Linked DNA regions of Homo sapiens: region 1 is linked to region 2. Evidence: promoter capture Hi-C in human tissues and cell types (Jung and others, 2019). All regions are on one chromosome and are shown on one strand. The core of a region is centred on a gene start or on the middle of the fragment in contact, and the rest is flanking DNA. Distances in the headings are between cores, read along the strand shown.

Region 1 (3,097 bases), core at 413-2,912, 1.1 Mb before region 2:
GGCTCACAGTGATTAAATCATTTTCCGAATGTCACACGAGAACGTAGGAGGCAGGCAGAATCCGGAGCCAGGGATCCGCCTCTGGGGCCTCCAGTGCCTCCAAGCGAGACAGCCACTAGACCAGCGAGCCCTGGAGGGCTGGGCAGGGCCTTGTCCCCTGGTGCCTCCCGGAGCCCAGCACGGGGCAGGGCCAGCTGGGCACTTAGTTTGGACGAGCTCTGTCCCTCCAGGGGCTTCACTTTCGCCTTCTGCAGCGTGGGGGATCATGTGTGACCTTGGCCAGCCCCTGACCTCCCTGAGCCGCAGCCTCTGCATCTGGGACACCCAGGGTTTCCCATGCAGGGAGTGTCAAGTGTGGGTGCAAAGCCCAGGCACCGCACCCCTCTGCAGACGTCTGGGGCTTTCTCTTGCCCCTTCAGTTCCCTCCCTTCTCTGAGAAGCGCACCTGCTGCCTGTGGACATGAACACTGGGCATTTGGTGAGTCACACAGTGGCCACCCGCTTCTCCAGTGGGAGCTTCATGGCACCCCCACTGTGCTGAGTTGTCACGGGGGACCTCCTGGCCTCTCGCAGCCCACCTGAGTCCTGCAGGGACCAAGCATCCTTGTAAAGCCTCACAGCCCACCTGGGCAGATCGAGGAAGAACCTAGAAGCCAGAACAAGCTGGGGCTGGAAGACTCATTCCAGGCACCGAGGTCCATGTGAAAGGAGGCTTTGCGGTGGTTTCTGCTTTGCTTGCATTGAGCCTCAAACTCTTCCTGTCCCGTGAGAAGGGGGGATGGGATTTGGAGGCCTGAGGAAGGAAGGAGGGGAGCTTCCTGCGCACAAGCGGCGGCAGGGGTTTGCAGAAGTGGAGGCTGGGGGCTGCCTGGCCAAGCGCTTACCGCCCTGCGCAGCCAGGCTGGCTGGCAGGCTGCAGCGGGAAGCGCCTGTGGGTCCTCGGCGCTGACTGCAGAGCTGGGTGGAGGCAGCGGAACCAAAACTGCTGTGTCACTGCACGCTGCAGCTGTTGCCAGGGTGACCGGGTGAGTTTCCCACGCTTGCCCGGGCGGCAGCGTGCGGGCCGGCGGGTGGGGCGGAGGGGTGTGCAGAGAGGCCAGTGGTGTCGTGCCACCCGATGCCCGGGGGTGTCCACTCCCCTCTCCTGGGTCACGTGACCAGGGCCCCTGCCCTGCGGTGTTGTGGGGTGTATGTGTGGTTCTTGGGGGGGTCCCCAGCCCTCCTCCGTCCTGGGAACTGGGCTTCGGCGTCCTCATGTGTGGGTTGGGACCCCCCAGAGTGCCTGCCTCATGGAGTGTCCGGGGGCACCCAGCGGGGCTGGGCACTGCCAGGGGCTCAGTAATGAGAGGCAGCTCTCATTTAGGTGGGCAGCGGGCAGGGGGTTGCAAGCAGGGACCGCCCATGTGTTGGGGGGGGTGTTGAAGGTCCTTTTCCACAGAGGCCTGGGGTCTGCTGCGGGCGAGTCCTGAGGTTGCCACAGCCTCTGCTGGCCTTGCTGAGCAAGCACAGTGGCCCCGCTGCTCCGGAGCAGCGTGGCGGGTGGGGGGCACGGCCCTCTCTAGCCTCGGTGTCTGTGTGTGAAGTTGGGGGTACAGCTGCGCCATCCTTGCTGCAGGGCCGTGGGGGACATAGGGACAAACCTGGTGTACACCCCGCTGACTGCTGTGGTTGCCCCCCCCAGCTCAGCTCACCTATGAACCCCGTCAGCAGCAGCGAGGACATCAAGCCCCCCCTGGGCCTCAATGGCGTCCTCAAGGTCCCCGCCCACCCCTCAGGAAACATGGCTTCCTTCACCAAGCACATCTGCGCCATCTGCGGGGACCGCTCCTCAGGTACCGCTGCTGTGGGGGCCAGGGGCTGGTGGGACAGGGTTGTCAGGCCATTGCAGGGTCTGGAGGCCTCCCCAAATCACCCTCCTGTGGGCCAAGCAGGACCCAAGGCCAGGGTGCAGGGAGGCAGGTGCCTGGGCCATGCCCCACTCCCAGGGCTCCGCGAGGCCATTCCAGGGTTCTCACGTCTGTGGGACAGTGAGTGTTGGGTGGGGTGGGGCACAGGGCAGCCTGAGGCTTCCGGAGAGGAGGTGGCTGCTGATGGCAAGGTCAGCATGGGGGCAGCCAGTGCTGCGCCTCCTCCCTTGGCTGGGTCTGGGCAAGGGGCCCGTGTTGTGCCACTGACCCCCAACGGCCTGAGAGGGAAGAACGGGCTGCACAGTGCAGACACAGAGCAGGTGACTTGCCTGGGGCCCTGGTCCCTGGTGGGCTGGGATTTGTCCCTGCCCCACTCCTAAGCTGTCCTCGGAGGAGCAGAGAGAGTGAGGCTGGGGCCCAGTCTGAGCCCAGGCAGGGGTCTGGAGACCAGCAGGTCCCTTTCTGAGGCCTGGCCCGCCAGCTGGTAGTGGCGGCGTTGGATGGGGGGTGGGCTCCCTGCCGGGGCGGTGGGTGCTCCCCAGCCCTGCTCTGCCCTGTCCCGCAGGCAAGCACTATGGAGTGTACAGCTGCGAGGGGTGCAAGGGCTTCTTCAAGCGGACGGTGCGCAAGGACCTGACCTACACCTGCCGCGACAACAAGGACTGCCTGATTGACAAGCGGCAGCGGAACCGGTGCCAGTACTGCCGCTACCAGAAGTGCCTGGCCATGGGCATGAAGCGGGAAGGTAGGCCACGGCGTCGGGTGGGGGCGCGGGCAGGTGTTGGACAAACAGTGGGGCCCGGGCTTGTGCGTGGACACCCGAGATGGACAACAGGGAGTGAGTGGCCTGGACAGAAGCATGGCAAGGCCAAGGCAGGAGTGGGGGCGGGGCCCAGCGCGTGGGCACACGTGCGGCCCAGAGCGTGGGCACACATGGGTCCTGGGCGGCATGTTCTGGCTGGCGTTGGCTGTCCGGTGAGGGGATGGTCAAGGAGACCCTCAGGTGGCACTGCTTAGGTTGGAGAGGTGGAGCGGGGGCATCTTCTGAGCTGTTGGATGCCAGGGGTGGTCCCGGGCCAGCTTCCTCCCGAGGCCAACTCTGTGGCACCCCGCAGGGCCGCCGGATGGCCCCCAGGCTCTTGGAGCAGTTCCTCCTTTCCTTTTGTTTTTGTGCTCGTCTTATTAACAAA
Region 2 (3,281 bases), core at 239-2,738:
CCAGTCATCTCAATGCGAGAATGAGGATACTAACAGACCCTGCCCTAGAGGACTGTTGAGGGACCAAATGTGTGATGAGCACGGCAAGATGTTTGCACCTGCCTACAGGAATTGAGTTTCTTACTACTTCTTAGCCTGCAATGCCCTGTGGCAGCTCAGAGCTGGCTGAGTCTACAGCAAGACAGTGGAGGTGCTGCTGTGCTCACGCCCCGCAGCGGAGTTTCAGGGTAGAGAGGAGAGGAGACTCACCCGACACAAATCAGTGGAGCTGAGACCACAACTGGGCTTTCTCCCCCCACGGCCCTGCCCCCCACTGCCCTTATCCCCACTTCCTTGTATGAGGCTCTAGGGAGCACGGTCGCCGCTCACTGGCGGGCGATGACAGCGCGGGCCCCGGATGACCACTCGATCTTCTTGATTTCTGTAGCTAGGACCTTGGGGGTCTTGCGGGGTCTCTCACACACGGGGCTATCGAGCAGTGGACGCCAGGACCAGGCGGGCCCCAGCTTCCTCACCTGTAGCCCCGGAACCACCCCGGGTTGTTGAACCTGCCCGGCAGGTCCGCGCTCACGCGGTAGTAGTCGCTGGTCCTCTCCGGCGGGGCCGTGGCCTTGGGCGCCACAGGCTCCGCGCACGCTCTGGGGCATTCCTCAGCCATTGTGCCTGGAGGAGAAGCGGGACTCGGCGGCGTCCTGTTGCCAAGCGACGGCCAGGTCACGTGACTGGGGAGCGAGCGGAGGGGCCTTAAAGGCGCCGCGCGTGGGCCGGGTTCCTCTGCGGGTGGGTCCGGAACCTGCCGGGCGACTCCCCAAGGGCCGGGAAGGTCGGGACGGCGAGAGATTCCCTGCTGGGACCGTCGTGTGAGGCAGCCCCAGGCCCCCAGCCACCCGCGGGGGGACCGGGCCACCCCAGCATCAGGGCGTGGACTCCCGGGCGAAAGAAACCCCAGGGCCTGGGACCCCGCCAGCCGGGTGACGGGGTTTAAGCACTGCAGGTCCACTCGGCAGGCAACGATTGGACTTTTGCTGTCCAATGTACTCCAGGGATGCTATGCCCCCCAGCACCCCGAGTCTAAATTGAGACCCGAGATCTGGCTAACTTTATGAAATTCTCCTAAGCCAAATATCGTTTAAATATTACAAACAGTTTTGGAGAGCGAGAGGTTGCGCAGGACGTGGTTCACAGCTCACTTGGCGGGAGGCGAGGGTCCCCATCGCCCAGCGGGCTTCCCCAAGGGTCAGGGGCCTCCCGGGCTGGCCGGTCCCATTAGCAGGGCGGGGCGAGCTGCAGGGCGAGGACCGTGGCTCCACTCCCCGCCCGAGACTCTCAAGCCCAGGACCCCGGGCCCTGACCCCTCGCGTGCCCCGCCCCCGCAGGGAGGTCCCAGCCGCCTGGGGACAGCGCTGTGGCTCCTCCGGGCCTGTAGGCGGCACTGCGGCCCCGCGCGGATGGCGACGGAAGGGGAGGCCGCTCGGCCTGGCCTGGAGGGAGACCTCGCTCTGCCCCGCGTCCCAGCCATGGCGACATCCTCGGCCGCGCTGCCCCGAATACTCGGCGCGGGTGAGCGCGCGCTTGCGGGACCCTGGGGAGGAGCATGCGAGGAGGATGCGGAGGGGCGCGGGGACCCGATGGAGCGGCGGGGACGTGGAGGGGACCCGGGGCGAGCGCGGAGGGGACTCGGGGAGGGCGCGGGGACGCGGAGGGGACCCGTTAGGGACGCGGAGGGGCCCGTTGGGGATGCGGTGGGGAGCGGGCGTGGTGCATTCGGGACTCGGCGCCAGGACCTCTATCTACTTCCCCCCAGGTGCCCGGGCCCCGTCGCGCTGGTTGGGCTTTCTCGGGAAGGCGACCCCCCGGCCTGCTCGGCCGAGCCGCAGGACGCTTGGAAGCGCGACGGCCCTTATGATCCGCGAGTCGGAGGACAGCACCGGTAACACTGGGCGCCCAGCCGAGTTGGGTGGGAACGAGGAGAGGCCGGCAGCCGCGGGGGATGCGAACCCTAGAGGGGCCTGGGCGCTGCACGCGGTCGAAACTGCGCGCTCCGCTGGGCTCCTCCCACTCCCGTGCTCGCCGCCGCTCGGTCCTGCCTGACGTAGCACAGCGGGCTGAGGCCACCGCCTCACCATGGATAGGGTGAGAGGGAGCGGGCGGGCCAGTGGTTAGCACAGGCTTCGCTCCCTAGGGGGGTGTCACTGGACCACCGAGGCCCGGAGCCCCGAGCTCGCCCAGGCGGGCCCAAGTGACCTGGGGGCACTGGGCTTGGAGTCTGCCCACCTTGCTGGACTCCTGATGGGGACTTTCTGGCTGGCCACCTGAGACCACAAGGCGGGGAGGTGCCAGAAAGACCTGAGCAACCCGCTGGGCCCCTCTCTTTTTCTCCTCTGTCTTCCAAGTAAGACCAAGGGACGGGGTTGACCAGGTTCGACCAGGCTTACCCAGGAGCAAGGTCGGGATCAGAACCTGGCTCCAGCCCTCTGTTTCCTGAAAAGGTCCCTGTGCTTCCAGGTCTTTCCTGGGGCTGCTGGGCTCCCGGCTCCCCACCTCGGTGTCACAGAAGGCACTTGGGAGCAGGGGTGGGCGGGAACTGCGCTCTGCCTGTCTCTGCTGCCACCGGTGGGAGACGCAGCGTCGCTCCTCCTCCCTGCCGTAGATTTCAACGACAAGATTTTGAATGAGCCCCTCAAGCACTCTGACTTCTTCAATGTCAAGGAACTGTTTTCCGTGAGAAGCCTCTTCGATGCCCGAGTCCATCTGGGACACAAAGCTGGCTGTCGGCACAGGTAGGTGACACCCCCATCTGAGCCCGGGGCGGTTCCCAGGAGGAACCTGGGACCTGCTCTGGTTCTAGGGCCACTTTTGAACTGGCCTATGTCAGTTTTAGGTGATTACAGCCCCATCCTCCTCCACATGGGAATACAGAGCCCCACAGAGAAGCAGGAGTTTATTCCTCAGCTTGGCGGACGCTCTTGTGTGCCTTGGTGTGGCGCTCACAGCCCTTGATAGGGCAGGCCTGCTGGGGGTTGCAGGACTCCACGGGTTCAGAAATGGAAAGGCTGAGGGCAGAACCTGTAAGGTTGGTCCCCCCGGATCGGGCTGGGCCTTCTGGGCTGCGGGGAGGAGGAATGACTGGTCCTGTATTCTCACATGGTCATTTTGACTGCTGTGGGGGGAGGGGATGGGAGGGGCAGGTGGGAGGCCAGGGAGGAGGTTGGTGTGGGCGTTCAGGGTGAAGGTGGCGGGGCTTAAATCGCAGTAGCGGAAGAGCTGGAGCAGCAGGTGGA

The links. Contacts are between HindIII fragments. The study calls those that stand out against the background at their distance.
Region 1: a contact is called between a fragment that was not itself captured here and the fragment with the promoter of MRPS2 in region 2, in 1 of the 25 tissues and cell types used here (dorsolateral prefrontal cortex).

Annotation. Positions count from the first base shown.
Region 1 is chr9:134,406,468-134,409,564 of GRCh38, forward strand. It overlaps RXRA (retinoid X receptor alpha), which reads left to right. Exons shown (of 10, transcript NM_002957.6): 3 at 1,682-1,832; 4 at 2,473-2,652. Among named protein-coding and RNA genes, the nearest start is that of MIR4669, 29 kb to the left of the region's middle. RefSeq lists enhancers at 318-787, 589-1,401, 1,402-2,214, 2,215-3,026. The HindIII fragment of the contact is 8,028 bases long and covers 1-3,097 here.
Region 2 is chr9:135,499,194-135,502,474 of GRCh38, forward strand. MRPS2 (mitochondrial ribosomal protein S2) reads left to right here and starts at 1,489. Exons shown (of 4, transcript NM_016034.5): 1 at 1,489-1,560; 2 at 1,805-1,930; 3 at 2,651-2,780. The coding sequence starts at 1,518. PIERCE1 (piercer of microtubule wall 1) reads right to left here and starts at 676. Exons shown (of 3, transcript NM_001048265.2): 1 at 516-676. The coding sequence starts at 658. RefSeq lists silencers at 779-948, 1,219-1,388, 1,599-1,758 and an enhancer at 1,714-2,338. The HindIII fragment of the contact is 18,925 bases long and covers 1-3,281 here.